Linked DNA regions of Homo sapiens: region 2 is linked to region 1. The links are contacts of gene promoters, found by promoter capture Hi-C in human tissues and cell types (Jung and others, 2019). All regions are on one chromosome and are shown on one strand. Each heading gives the region's core, a stretch centred on a gene start or on the middle of the fragment in contact. The rest is flanking DNA. Distances are from core to core; before and after follow the strand shown. Region 1 holds the start of SMIM21 (small integral membrane protein 21). Region 2 has its middle 23 kb from the start of PTGR3.

The links. The method cuts DNA at HindIII sites, captures the fragments that hold promoters and counts their contacts. A contact is called where the count stands out against the background at its distance.
Region 2: a fragment that was not itself captured here is called in contact with the fragment with the promoter of SMIM21 in region 1 in 4 of the 25 tissues and cell types used here (heart left ventricle, lymphoblastoid cells, mesenchymal stem cells and 1 more).

What each region holds. Positions count from the first base shown.
Region 1 is chr18:75,425,072-75,432,852 of GRCh38, reverse strand. It overlaps SMIM21 (small integral membrane protein 21), which reads left to right and starts at 5,150. Exons shown (of 3, transcript NM_001037331.3): 1 at 5,150-5,418. The coding sequence starts at 5,290. It overlaps LOC105372200 (a long non-coding RNA gene), which reads right to left. Exons shown (of 4, transcript XR_935636.3): 4 at 6,192-7,781. LOC124900405 (a long non-coding RNA gene) reads left to right here. Exons shown (of 3, transcript XR_007066472.1): 3 at 1-150. RefSeq lists an enhancer at 1,858-3,057. The HindIII fragment of the contact is 8,486 bases long and covers 1,863-7,781 here.
Region 2 is chr18:75,182,292-75,190,072 of GRCh38, reverse strand. No RefSeq gene overlaps it. Among named protein-coding and RNA genes, the nearest start is that of PTGR3, 23 kb to the left of the region's middle. The HindIII fragment of the contact is 3,462 bases long and covers 2,401-5,862 here.

The DNA of each region.
Region 1 (7,781 bases), core at 3,901-6,400:
AATGGAAAGTCTTGTATACCAAAGCAGGAAAAAAAACACATTTAATTTATGATGGCTTTGAATTTTGATCATAATTTACTCCTGGAGACCTATTCACACAAAGCAATACCAATACAATTTTTCAGAAGCAATAAAAAATAAAACAATAAATGCTGATCTTATTAGTTTTTTCCTGAAAGTTCAGACATATTCCATTCTGGGATTATGCAAATTATGCTTAACTGGAGACTATATAGGTTATTATATAGGTTATTATAATTTCTCTTGAGCTAATTCTATTAGCTTAACTTTTGAAGTATTTTAGCTACTAGAATTTTCAAATTTATGTGTTTCTCTTTTCTTCCTTAAAGAAACTATCAAGGGCTTGCCCCAGTTCAAGGTCTTAAAACAACAAAAGAGATAGATATACATGGAATTAAGAAAAAATATCACTCAAAAAATTACGACCAAAGAAGAATCATGTTTTGTAAATTCTTTCATGTCACCTAATTTTAATCCACAAATTGGAGTCTGATTTAAAATAGGAGAAAACTCTCAATAAGGATTTTTGCAGAGTACGTAAGACATATAAAACTCCCCTCATGGAAGCCAGGCCGTCTTTCTTCCAACAAGATGAAATCAATCATTTGTCAGGGCTTACCATAGTAAAGCAAGTTCATACAGTAAATGAAAGATACATACATTAAGAAGACAAGGTTCTTGACTCAATGGACTTAGAGTTGAAAGGAAGATGAGGCTTCTAAGAACACAAATCACTCCTGGGCAGCTAGAGGCCGGGGCAAGTGCCTCTAGGATACTCAACTTAGCGGGTGGGCTGGGGAAGCCCAGGGAAAGAAGGATCTCTTCAGAGACCAAGAAAGGCTTCCTGAAGGAGACTGTGTTTGAACTGGGATTTGGTCAGAAGAGTTGAGTGTCCCAGAGAGAAGAACTCACACAAGCAAAGGACACAAAAGGGGCAACATTAAGAGACAGTCCCCAGGACCAGAGGGAGGCTGTATAAGGTGAAGGGTTTGGTGCAGCTACAAGTAGATTAGGACGGGGAATATGGGGCATGGCCAATACTTTGAAATGTTTGGGCTTCCTTTTGCAACCTGTGAGCACCCCTTGAAGGTCTGAGGATTGGCTGAGCATGAGAGTAACATGATTTAGACATGGGCATTAGGCCATTCTATGGAGATAGCTGGGCCGCTGAGTGACCAGTGCAGCCATGCGTACCCTCCAGCAGCATGAGGGTCCAGATTAGCGCAGAACTCTGAGATATTAAAGAGGGGTGGGAAGGGTACGTGAAGCCAGAACCACCAGGGGTGGGAGGAAGGGGATGGCTGACAATGGCAGCGGCTAACTAGATGGCTGGTGATACCATTCACAGGAGCAGGGAAATCACAGAAAGGTGGAGCTGGAGGTTGGCCAGGCAAATGGAGTGTTTGGGGATGCCAGTGAGGCTGACTAGGAGAAGCTCTATGCGTGGTCTGCAGGCAGATGATCAGGAATTTGAAGTTAGTGAATAAAACACAAAAGGGAATGTAGACAACATCACACAACAGTCAAGAACAGCTCCAGGGGAGTCCACTTTTCAAGAGGAAGAGAAGAGAACAAAGAGACAAAACAGCCAAAGCGGGGTCCCACAAACAGGGTCACGGTGCAGAGAGGGGCACACAGGGTCTGAGAGTCTGGGGGAAAAGAACGCTGCTGACATAGTGCATGGCTTCTCAACGGCCTCACAGCACAGCTGCCACAGAGGCAGGGTGGAATCTTCCCAAAAGTGAACATGTGTCTGTGTGTGCCTGAGGCCTGCATGGGAACTTGAGACTTGGAGCTGGAACTAGGTAGCAGGACTCAGAAAACGGAGTCAGGTGTGAAGATCACAGTAAGGACCAGACAATCTGAGGGGGACTGAGATCCAGAAAGAGAACCCGAGCACAGGGACACACTTCACAAGCAAGCCTAATGAAGAGGCTCCAAAAGCCAGGGAGTGACGAAGAGGGAAGGGATGCAAGCCAGGTTCTTTCTGGCAATGTGCAGCCTCCAAACCCCACTTCACGAAAGGACCAGCTTTAGTGTCTGATGCACACTCTTCAAATTTAGCAATAAGCTCTACCAACCAACAATCTATGTTTCCAGGGATGATGATGGCTGTTCCTTCAGAGGCATCGAACCGGTGTCCTGAACTCCTCTGCACTGACTGGGACACCGCAGACCCCTCAGAGGGAAGGAATCGTGCCTATTCATTCCAGATGCGGTGTATGCAGACAGCTCTCTTCACAAGTCCAAAGTTGAGATAACTTCTATGTGCTTGAAAAGTCTCCTTTTCTATGACAGTTTAAAGAAAACATTTTCTTCCAAAGAAAAAAAATATGGCTTACTCTCTATTTTTAGGGGCAAAATAGCAGCAGCAGCTGAAAGTAAAAACCTTTGGGCTCTCACAATCCCATAAAAAAAGCAATAAGATTCTCTAATAAAGCGGGTTAACAGGATAACCTGGACCAAGTCTCTAAATACCGAAGACCCATGGAGGGAGCAGATTCATTTAACTAAGACTCTAATCAGAGGCCACTGATTAATCTTAATCCTACAAATCATCTACTGTGACTCAGCCCATAAACTGCGGGATCTTTCATTCTCATGCCTCATAATAGGTGTGGGAGGAGCCCAACTGACATAAGAAGACTGTGGCATGACATCATAAAAATCACCAAGTGGCATTGTTAAACACCCCCATACGGTTATGAGCCGCACTGCTATGCTAAGCACAGCACGCACACTCAGGAGTGATCTCTCCACTGCTCCTCTGCTGCGTGGGTGACGAGGCTTCTCATTAGTTATCCATGTCCTCGTCTAATCACAAATGCGTTAGTCAAAAACCAGGGCATGTGAGAGTTTATAGGAAACAGGACATCTAAACCTCAAATGAGGGAAGGGAGGAAAAGGAGGGAGGGGTGGGGAAGGTAAGATTCACCAAATTCATTTTGTTTTCTATCACCTGGTACTTCTCCTGGTCTTAGCAGGCCTACGGTTCATTGGCACATGCTTCAGGCTGTAGCCCAAGGCTGGTTTAATCTACTACAGGGTTTAAGTTTTCAAAAAGAATTTTCAGCAGATGCACTAGATATGGTCAAATATTTCAGTGTTGTTCCTAATTATTTGAAGTTAACCACCTAACATCCACAGACTATAGATTACCCTCACCCAGGTCTTCAGCCCCAGTTGATTCAGAGGGCTGTTTAGAATTAACACCCAGTTTTCCTTCCTTAATCCACAGACAACCACACTTAAAGGACAGCTAAGAAGCCGCAATCCCTTCCCAGCAAATAGTGCTTATTATCTTACAGAGCAGGTTCACATCTTGTCACTTCACTTTGACCTCCTGGTTATCCTGCCTATTTTGTAGGAAAGGAAACTGAGGCCTACAAAGGTTGGGTCAATTGTCCTAGGTCATGTGGAGGGCAATCGGTTCAGCCAGGATTTAAACCGCCTTTGCTCTGTTTCTGGTCCTCATAGGTTCTCTACCAGAACTACAGAAGGACAGGAAGAGCTAGAAAAACCATTCCAGAGCTCAACTATAACTGGGCATAAACTCTGAGCTCATTAGAAAACTAGAAAACTATATCCTTTTGCTCTTGTTCACAACTTTTAAGTTGAACTTATCCATAAAGAGGAATTACCATGTTTACAGATTGTAGTGGCCTGATTTGCATATGCTTATCATGAAAATAAACATGATTATGGTTGTTTTTTCCCCTAAGTCTAGTTGGCAGAGAGCAACTTCGTCCCTCCTTGGCACCTGTCTCAACTGTCATAGACCAAGCTGTCCCTCCTAGATGAGGTCTCTTTCCACCCCCTACACCCCACTGTCTTTTAGCAGCTGGAAGTTTAAGGCCTGTGGGAAATTGAAGATTAATTTTTAGTCAGTGTTTTTTTTTTCTCTTTTCTTTAAATCACCAACTCTGAGAATTCTAGATGTTACTCTGCATATGTGTGCTCCACAACTATCAACTTTCACAATTTGGGATCTGCTACAAAACGGGCTTCCGAGCTCCCTTCCTGTCCCTCCACACAGGTCTCAAGCCTCCTCTGTCTCTGCTCCCTCTGCACGTTTCTGCCTTTCCCTTGTCCATGGCCTTGGTGGGACCCACCATTTTTTGCTCTTCTTTCTAGAGAATGAGTCTTGTCTCCAACTAGATGGGAAAAACCACTCAGGACAAGACCATCAGAACAGCACTGGGCTACTGATTTGTATGCTGTGCATATGGTCACTGTTCACATAATAACAGGTATTTTCTTAGTCATACTGTGCGTCAAGCACAGTGCATACTGTCCTGGGCATTTTTACTCAACACCAACACTGTGGAGCACCCATCATGAGCTTCTGTAGGCTGGGACTCACAACTATGTGCATCTCTCTTCATCAGGCACCTTGTCAAAAGCCATCCACACTATGGGGATAACGCTGCAAGTATTTGGTGAACGTGTGTGTGTTAAGTACCACTTAATTTTCCGCTCATTGGGCACCATTTACAAACAGTGGAAGATCTGTGAAAATTCCCATGAGGCAGCACAGCAGCATCCAGAGGCCACCACACACGTCTCATGGCTACTCTCCACCCTGCGATGATGGTCTGCACAGCGCTTCTTCCTGGGGTAGCTCCCAAGTAACCTCCATTCAGCTTTCCTCCTGCTGTTCCATGGTGCTTGTCTTCCAGCAGAATCTCTCTCACTTTAACAATTAAATGGACAACCCAGGAAACCTACACTTGGAATTCAGCGAAAGAAATGTTAGTCTCCTGTGGAGTGTCTCATTAGGTTAAAAGAAAGTTACTGAAAAGTCTGATGGGAAAATGAATTTCTACATTTTGCTTAGGGCCCAAAAAGAATCCCAGATTTTATTTCCATTGAAGTGCATATAGTAGTATTTATTTTGATTCAGGGAGATGCGGTTCATTTTTAATATTCACAAAAGCTTCTTGACATCAGATCCAAAGCTTGTGCTGTGGAGATATGGTTGAACATTCTCACACAGCATCACTGAGCCAGAGAGCAACCTGAGAAACCTCAGAACTCCATGTGCGGGAAGATTCCATCCGACTTCATAAAATAATACCTGGACCTGAGAACTCTACATGTGGGAAGATTCCATCCAGCTTCATAAAATAATACCCAGATCTTCAAGGTTGGCAAAGAAGAGAAAAGCTCCTTGGGAACTTAGTTACCAGGTCTTATAGCACCAGCTCTGTGTCCTCAGAGTCGCTGTCATCAAGGAGACCTCTCACTGGTCACCGCCGCAGCCCCCACATGGACCAGTATGTGTCCACAGCTCCTCCCCGATTCCCTATAGCACAGCTGGGAACATTTAAACAAGACTCTGCAGGAATGGGACGGATATTCAAGGGGAATTTGCTGCAGAAGAAAGCACTTACCACAGTGAGTTTATGGGTCTTTAACTTTGGGTTATGAGAGAGACGTATCACTGCACAGGTATGGTCCTACAAAGCACTCTTTTGCCCCAATCTCCTGTGAGTGCTCTGTCTCTCAAATCCAGATTCTACGAAGTTTAAGATGAGACGTCAATCCAGAGCTCTTTCTTTCTCAGTTCTGGCCAAGACAACCTCCCAATTCCAATTCCCAATCTGAGGAAGAGCTGCCCCTTTCAGAAAAGGTACTGGGCCCTCCCCTTGACATTACATCAGTATACAGGCCAATGAGTCAATGATCTCTCCCCTACAGAGAGAGCCTCTTAACACAGATGCAAGGATACCTCCAAATGCTTTAAGCCTAGGTGCACCTGCAACACCTACAAACTCAACCTACCCAGACAAATTTGATACTGCACTCCTAGAAGAAAGTTTCTTTTCCTTCATTACAGGACAGAAGCAAAAGTTGCAACAAATTTAACCATTCATGAACCAGTAGCCAATGTGCAGGCAACAGATGGCATTTATAGACACCCCATTTGCAGAGGTGATGGGGTGATCAATAGCTTCTGAAAAGGAAGTTTATGACCCAGTCATATATCGGAAAGGTTAAAGTCCTAAGACAAAATTTCTGGAATGTCTTCTCCTGTAGCACAGGGTTCCTCTTAGTGTTTCTGACTGTGAAGAGGAGATGGATGGGAGCAGGCAGGTAGCATCTCCTTCCTCTGTCTTGATCCCCACTGCTGCTTCTTTATTTCCTTTTCCTTTTTCCATTTTTTTTTTTTTTTTTTTTTTTTTTTTTTTTTTTTTTTTACATTTTAAAAGTAATGGTCTAGGGCCGGGTGCAGTGGCTCATGCCTGTAATCTCAGCACTTTGGGAGGCCGAGGCGAGGAGATCACAAGGTCAGGAGATTGATACTATCCTGGCTAACACAGTGAAACCCCATCTCTACTAGAAATACAAAAAATTAGCCAGTCGTGGTGGCGGGCACTTGTAGTCCCAGCTACTTGGGAGGCTGAGGCAGGAGAATGGTGTGAACCCGGGAGGCAGAGCTTGCAGTGAGCCGAGATTGTGCCACTGCACTCCAGGCTGGGTGACAGAGCGAGACTCTGTCCCTCAAAAAACAAACAAACAAACAAACAAACAAACAAATAAATAAATAAAAGTAATGGTCTTAAAGTTCTTCAGTCTTAAACAAATTATAGAAGGCTTTAAAAGCTGGTTTTGTGCATTTCATATGTGATAGTTGTAAGTCGATTTGAAGTCCTTCTAATACTTTATAAATTTCATCAATCAACATCCAGGTAGGTAGAATCTTAGGTACATGATGATGGTTATGAATTAATACTAGGCCGGTGTGTGCTGGGTTTGTCTCCAGGCCTTGCGTGAGGGCTGTGATGGGGTGCATGACTCAGGAGGCACTCGGTGGGCAATCAAAAGAGGCAATGGTAACACAGCACCTCAAACATTTCAGGGCAGCTGGTCTGCACCAGGTACACAGTAGGCATGAGGAGTGCAAAGATGGGAGAGGCAGGGGCCCCCACCTCAGGGAGCACACAGATACAGAGACTGTCCCTGTCCCCTCCATCTTCAACTCTTGATTTCTTCCATCTTTCTTAGGTTGGAGGTTAACTTGCTGCTGAAGAGATTTCAGCAGGATGGGAACTTACATATAATCTGAATAATCAAATGTAAAAGAGTTCATCTTCTGGGTCCCACTTCTGCTATTTTCATCCACTGCTTCCTACCCATGTGCTAAGCATTTTCATGCAGCCTCGTCTGTCTTTTCAATAAGAAAGCCAGTTGATAACTGATTCACACTTAGGTGGGCTGTTAAACCACAAAATGTTGACAAGGAAAACAACACTTAATAATAAATCATATGATGGTAACGTTTCTGTAGCCAGTAGGAAAATGGTTTCAGGTGTGAACAATTCTCACTACTTCATGGATCATACGACATAGATACTGTTCATTAATGACTCTAAAGCCAATACAGGGCATGAAACTATAAGGAATTCCTTCCTGCTATTGTCCAGGCAGTGGAATGGGACTTTTTTTTTCTTTTGGCCAGTGTTCACTGGTTCCACTATGTTTCTGATCAGATCTTCACATTTAATTTCTTCTTAGGTATTCATGCATCTAGGAGTTCTTATGTACTGGAAACTCAGTATCTCCTGTTTGCAGGCAGTGACTGGGTGTTCATTAAATCCAGATATCTCTGGATGGAGGCTGTGGATAAGCTTGGTGTCCAGTGGAATCTCTCTCATGCACAGACGACGAAAATCCAAAAGCTCACATTGGTTCCAGTACAACAGACAGCCTGTTCCACTGGAGTTGTGTCAGCTGAGGTGTGCACATTTGTATCATCT
Region 2 (7,781 bases), core at 2,882-5,381, 240 kb after region 1:
TCAGAGAGGCTTATCTAACGAGCCTTACCTTCCAGCCACTCTTGGAGTGGGAGTTCAGGTGCCAGGGAGGTCCCTGAACACCAGCCACCAAAGCAGGCCCTGGCTTTTGCCATCTCTTCTGCAGGTCCAGCCAAGTCCCAGGGCTGCGCGGGTGAAGTGGTGCAGGGCAGGTCAGCAGCCGGGTGAGCAGCTGTCTTCCCAGCACAAGGTGGGGTGCCTGCCTTCAGCCCCTCATGGTGAATCGCTTGGAGCAAGCTTACCCATGGGGTGGGGTGCCTGCCTTCAGCCCCCCACGGTGAATCACTTGGAGCAAGCTTACCCCTGGGATGTGAGCCATGGCTATTGGCTGCTGCCAGCAGAGACCCCTTACCCTGCCTAAAACTGAGCCAGGTGACACCAAATAAATGTCTTTATGCTGGCCATAAGCACCCTTCTTGTACTACACACCAGTAGTCATTTTAACTTGCAGAGTGTCTATCTATTAAAGAACATGGAGATTGGTTGAAAATTTTTGTGTTTGTTTTTTAGCAACAGGGTCTTGCTCTGTCCTCCAGGCTGGAATGCAGTGGCATAATCCCAGCTCACTGCAGCCTCGACCTCCAGGATTCAAGGGATCCTCCTGCCTCAGCCTCCTAAATAGCTTGGACCACAGGCACACACAACAATGCCCAGCTAATTTCTTTTTTTCTTGGTGGAAACAGGGCCTCCGTATGCTGCCCAGGCTGGTCTCAAACTCCTGGGCTCAAGCAGTCCTGCCACCTCGGCTTCCCAAATTGCCGGGATTACAGGCATGAGCCACCGCACCTGGCCTGGTTGAAAGTTTATTTTTTTTATTTTTATTTTCTCCAGTCTTATGGTGCTGAATGGTTGAAAGTTTAAAGATAAATTTATAGTTAATCACTTTCCCAAAATGAAGGCTGGCCAGTGGAATCAGGACTAACCCCTCTTTGATAAAATGACTAATGGCTTGTTTTTAGTCATTTTGGGAGTGAAAGAGAACTTTGTTCCTCACACTATTTCTTTGAGGATGAGGAGTTTTCCACCCTGCCGAATCCACGGTTCCTTGGTTTGTGATAATGTTTTCCCCATAGTGTCTGCTTTTGCACGCATCCCCAAGGGGTAAAAGATGCTGCTGAGTTATAGCTGTGACAAGAGAACCACAGACCTTCCGATCCAAGAGGGACCTTAAAGATGGTATCATCTACCTGCCTTGTTTTGTAGGGGGGAAACTGAGGCCCGAGGAGGAATGGCAGCTGCCCTAGGACACACCACTCTGCCACTCTCACCCAAGCCTTGGGTGGGCCTCTCCCTGCTGTACTCTCCCAGCATAATATAAAGCACTTCCAATTTTTTAAAAAAGTAATATGCAGCATTCTTTTTCTAGAGCTTTTTATTCCAAGGTCATCCACCTATTCTGTTAATGGCAGAAAATCTGTGATAATATTCGGTGGAAAATTCTGTCATTTAAAAGCTCATGACTAGGAAAGGGACCCACAGAGAGGCTTGCCACACATCAGCAAGCAGGTTGTGTTCCATTCAAACACTTCATTCACTTTTCCACTATAGAGGACGTGATCCCTAAGAACGTGTGACCAGCTATGACACAGCCCTAAACTCAACCAGGATGGGCCATCCCCCAGGCATCACTCCATGGGACCGTCAGGGATGAGGGACATCAGTCCCTAACCAGAAGCCAATGGCTGGAACCAAGTGTGGCATCAGAGTCACTGGTCATGATGAGAGAGGTCTCTCATGGCAGTCATGGCTCCTTGTGTGTATATCTTTCTCCTTACCGGGAAAGGCCACCCACACGAAAAGCATGAAAAATGCTGGTGACTGCATACAGTCCTGGGAATCCGGCTACCCAGAGCCAATGCCAAGGGGCAGGAATGAACGACTTTCCCTCGGCCTCACCCTTATCTGGCTGCCAAGATCACCAAATGTTGGGGTAGAGAGAAGAACTTCAGTAAGCAGACTGTGAATGAGAGTTGGACCCCATGACCAGCTAAGGGGCATTGTATTAGTCCGTTCTCACACTGCTAATAAAGACATACCTGAGACTGGGTAATTTACAAAGGAAAGAGGTTTAATTGACTCACAGTTCAGCGTGGCTAGAAAGGCCTCAGGAAGCTTAGTCATGGCACAAGGAGAAGCAAATACGTCCTTCTTCACATGGCAGCAGGAAGGAGAAGAATGAGAGCAAAGTGAAGGGGGAAGCCCCTTATCAAACCATCAGTTCTCCTGAGAACTCACTCACTATCGGGAGAACAGTATGGGGGAAACTGCCCCCATGATTGAATTATCCCCACCTGGTCCCACCTTTGACACATGGGGATTATTACAATTCAAGATGAGATTTGGGTGGGGACACAGCAAAACCTTATCAGGAATCAAGGCGGTGCGTGGAAATGGCCTCCCTTTGCTGCGTGCTGGGATCCCACTCATGCTGGGATCTCTTTGCAAGAGGGATATTGACAGAGATCTAGGAAGAGCCTTGAGCTCTGCATTTTCCTGGAGGTGGGAAGGAATGTGAGTGTGGAGGGCTGCACCTGAGCAGGGCTGTGAGCCAGGGAAGCCTTGAAACTGAGCTCAAGATCCTCATTTTCTCCAAAAACAAACAGCAGGTGTAGGAGTCATGCCTTCTGCAATTTTAGGCAGGATCCTGTCAAGCTTCCTGGATTTCAGCACGTGTGTGACTTCAGAGGCCCCAGGCCTCAGGAACACTGCTTGCTCATCTTGCCCAAGCCTTCAAAGGCCATGTTGTTAAGAGTGTCACTCCTCTGCCCATGCACTGCCAGGTCTGCAAGAACAGGAGCATTATTGGGAGCACTATGAGGGCACTGACTGAGGTTTGTGGGCAGCCTGCTGATGTCCTAAAGTATTCGGTTACAACTGCAGGAGAGAGGACTCAGGACAGATGTACTTCCTTTAGGGGACAACTTTTCATGGAATCGGAGAGTCTTTGGACACAGGTGTCTGCTAGTGGCAGTCCATGCAACCAGGGCCTGGTGGAGCAGGAGTCAGGAGGAGGAGGCAGGCCCAGCTCCCTGGCAATGGGGATGCTCACTTTGGGGCTGACAGGCCCACTCCACACACAGGCTGAGGGGGACAGGGCCCTATTATATGGGTGAGCGGGGCCGGCTCTGGCATCTTGTCATTCTAGCTTGTGTAAGTCAGCAAGCTTAATTGCTCCCAGTCCTTTCAAGCTGACTTTCCACCAACAATCTCATTATCACACACATGTTTAGTTCACATTTCCTGGCCCTTCATGCAGCCCGAATGCAATGAAGGAAGAGAAAATATGAAGTTAACCTATAACATTGTTTGTTCTCTTCCTTCCCCTCCCCCGTGTCTTCAGCCCCCTGGAACCCTGGAAGCTGGGAGAGTGCACGGAGGTGGGACATGGGCCCCTCTGGGCAGCGGGGAAGGGAGGGCTGAGGCCTGGCTGAGCTGGAGCCCCTAGTCCTAGGTTCCAGTATGAACAATAGGGAAGTGTTTTGCCACGTAACAATACTGCCAGGAGCTTGGGAGAATACCCTCTCCAAGAAAGTGGCCTCAGCCATCCATTGCAAGTGTCCAAATCTCCTGCCTGTAGGTTCTGAGTCTGCAGGAGGGGCAGGAGGGCCCAGGTAGAATCCTACCTGCACAGACCTCACACTTCAACAGGGAGGGAGCAACGCAGGTGCACAAATAACGAGAGGCTTCGGGAGAAGGAAAGGCAGGGCAGAGGAGAGACACAACATTTATTCAGCACCTACTGTGATCTAGGCCTTATGCTAAGCGCTTGGTGCATGTTACTTCATCTAATCCTCAGCCAGTGTCTTCTAGACTGACACTGTCCAATAGAGACAGTAACTTGAGCCACACATGAGAGCCACATACGGAATTTAAAATTTTCTCATAGCCACATTAAAAATGTGGAATGTATTTTATGTAACCCAATATATCCAAAATACTGTCATTCCAACTTGTAATCAACATAGAATCTGGAAGAGGTGCCATTTTTTTAAATCAATAAATCTAACATTTCTGTAGTGCACCAGGCACTGATCCAACAGCTTTAGGTAGTAACTTCTTTAATCCTCATAACTAGCCCCCGTGGTAGGATCCATTATTATCACCCCCATTTTACAGATGGGGAAACTGAGGCACAAAGCACTGAAGAGACATGCCTGAGGTTCCAGGGCCAGTAAATAGGACAACTGGGGAGGGACCTGGCAGCTTTACCAGTGGGGCCCAAAGCTTTTCAAAACCATACACATAGCAGGTACTCAGTAAGCATTCAGAGTGTCGATGACCAAAGAAGTTATCTTCCTCTTCACTTATTGATCAAACTGTGGTTCAGAGAAGCCAGGTAAATTCCTCAATGTCACACAGCTGGAAAATGTCCAAGTCCTTAAGCCAGATCTGCCTGACTCAGAAGTTGGGAAGTGTCCCAGCGGGCGTTCAGAGGAAGGATGAATTGTTTGCAGCCAGCTCTATGCAGGGGTGCAGGGGGCATTTGAGCTGAAATTTGCACATATGGAGATGAAGAAACTATTTTGAACTAGGAGAACAGGATCAGCTGCCTCCTTCCACTAGCTGAAGGGGGTGAGGTGGGAAGGAGGGCATTGGGGTAGTGGGCCACAGACTCTGGAGGGCTCGAGGTAGAGTGGAACCGTGGGTTGGAGAGAGACAGCGACCACCCGCTGCCCTTCAGGGTAAGCCCGGGCTCCCTGCTGGCCAGCCCCACCCACCCAGTGCCCACCGAGGGGCAGTGTCGTTCTCCAAACCCCCGGGAGAGAGAAGCTTGCCCCCTGGAAACCAGCCCTCAGGGACCACTGACTTCACTGTGAAATCACCCATGTGGAGTCCCAGTGAGCGCCCCTTAGGAACTGGAAGGCTCTGGTCCAGCTGAGAGGAGTTTGAGGCACCAGCAGGCAGGTGCAGGAGACAGGCAGGCAGAACTCCCACTGTGCCCCAAGGCTGTGGCCAGTACAGCTTCCTGGCACCTGGGGTGGTCTGGAAAGAAGAGCAATATTAATCTTGCCTGAATTTCTGCAACCCATCCAGACAGCACCCACCTGGGCAGAGCCAGGGACCCTGGATGTGAGAGCTACTCTGCTGGGGAAGGGAAGGGAGGCCACTGACCCAGGCCTCTTCCTGACTCCCCCTTCCTCCTTTCCTGCCCCCTCCTCTTCATCACCTTGAAGAACAGATTGAAAGTGTGAAAAGCTCCTTCTCTTCCCATCCCTGTGCAGTTCAGCTATTGGGTTCAAAATCTGTTAAAATATGTTCAAATCCTAGGATTTCAGATCTTGGTTTTATTCTTCTTACATGAAGAAGAAACTGTAAGTACACTTCCATTTATTTAAAAAAAATCATATGCAAGATGGCACGTTAGATTCTCTTTGCAAACCAAGCTGAATACACTTGGTGGTTGCACAGCTCTCCTGGTATATTATTTATTGCGAAGGAAAATTATCGTGCTGATAAGAAAATAGTGTCACTTAAAAATTAGGTGGTTCCCAATCAACTTATGACAGTAATTGCTGTAATGTCCTCTTTGATTTAGATATAGTAATATCAATGTAATTGCCACTGGGAAAAAATTATAATGGCTGTTAATGATAACTAACACATAAATGGCAATGAACAGGAACATGTATTTTATATCGAATTCAACCACTGAGCAGCAGTAAGAAACCCAGTGGTTTTCAACAATCTGGCACCAACCCCTCAAGGAACTAAACCCCCCTCCCTCCTTGTGTAAATGAGGGGGTGGATGCTTACAGGGCGGGGAGTGCAGGGACGTCCTCAACCTCCCCTGGGCTCCATAATGGAGAGTCCTCCAGCCTTCCAGTGACGATGGGGAGGGCAGCCCCAGGAGAAGCCAATGGCCCAGAACCGCTAGACCTGCTTCTGCGGCAGAGCTGGGCATCGCGCCATGAGCACTCACATGGCGACCGTTCTGTGTGACTTTGCTCGTGCTTTAACTCGTTCAGCTCTCATTCACTGGGCACCTACTGTACTAAAGTGAGGATGAAAAGTCTGCAAAACATGGTCTCTGTCCCACCAACTGTACACGTCAAGCGAGCAAGTGCTGAATTGGTTTCTTTGCTGCCTGCACCTCCCATGAGCAGTGGTGTTTGTTGACCGAATGAAGGAGTTCACCGGGGCATGGGTGGGCAGACAAGACAAGGGCTTTTGGTGCCCAGCATGTGTGTACCCTCGCACGCATGGGGCCATAGGGGCATAGTCCTGACCTGCAGGGGAACAGATGCATCCACTGATGGGCCTTCCCTTCCATGGAGAAGAGGCATTACTGTAGCTCTCAGGAGGGTGACTCACCTACAGGACATTTAACTTAGTCACCGACCCGTTTAGCTGGTTTACAGGGATTCTCACCTGGTAAAGAGGGAGTCCTAAGGAAATGAGACTCTAGGCAGAAGATGGTGTGGGCAGAGGGGCACAAAGGAGGGGCAGAGGGAACTCCTGGCCATGGTGGGATCAGGGATCTGGGTAGTAGTCTAGACCAACCCATTCCTTAGGCATGAGTAAGATGCTTAGCCTCAATAGAAGAAGGGCTGGCCATACGGGTAGTTTCCATGGAGGGCTGTGGCTTGCACTTCTCTACGGAGGCTGCTGGGCTTCCCCATGAAGGCCGCACTCGGGAACATTAAATTCTGCAAATCTTAGGGATCCAGGAGAGAATCTGACTATGCATATTTATGAAGTTCCATGGGAAATTCTGACAGGAATAATAACAACAACAGCTACAATTCCCTTAATATTGGGACAAGGCACTATACTATATGCTTTACTCATCTTTCATTTCACTCTCAAAACACACATTTATGGTTGCTAATATTCATCCCATTTTACAGCAAGAAGTAGGCAGGCCAGAAAGGCTGAGTGACTTGTGTTAAGTTCACACGGTAATTGGTGAAGCCAAGCTTGGGGCTAGGCAGTTGACTCCAGCGCCTTCACTCCTGCCCAGTGACATTCCTAAATGGTTCTGGTGGGAGATTATATTTGGCCTAGGTGACTTACAAGGTTCTGTCCAGCTTAATACCTATGATAACGTGAATCTTGTTGGGAAATAAGAGGCACAGAAATCTCCAGAGCATTGGGTGAGGCCAAGGATCTACCTGGGACATTGTGACTGGCAGTACTGGGCAGCAAGAGACCACCTGGATACCCTGGGAAAGGGGGCAGGCATGACCTCCAACCCTGATAATAGAGGTGCTGGTACTACTAACTCTATCCCATTGAAAACAACTGAAAGGGTTGGCTAAAACTTTATGAAAATATAAAATCATCAAGAGCTGACAAAATGGGTAAAAGTAAATTACTAGACCAAAATCCAAGAGGAAATGGCAACCCAGAAACTGAGGCAGAGGACTGAAGCTACTCCTTCTGGAAAGGACTAGCCAAGAATGGAGCACATGAGCTTCCGTTTCCACAGCCTTGCAGCATGTGTGTGGCATAAGACAAAAGCCAGGGCCTCCCGAGGTGAGCAGCCATGGTACTGAGCATAGAAGGGGGAAAGAAAAGAAGAGTCCCCAATCACTGGAACCACACACCAACACTTGGCGGAATTTGTGGCTGATCTAGTTAGTCCAAAAAAACTCAAACCCATGAATTCAGTACCATGTGGACCCAAGTAATCATCCACCCAAAATTCCTGGCAGAAGCAAACATAAATTCTCTCTGAAGGAATGGATCTTCATCTTAAACCTCAAACAATTCCCACATGGAGAATGAACAGATGACATTTCGGAATACTCAATCATCAGAAG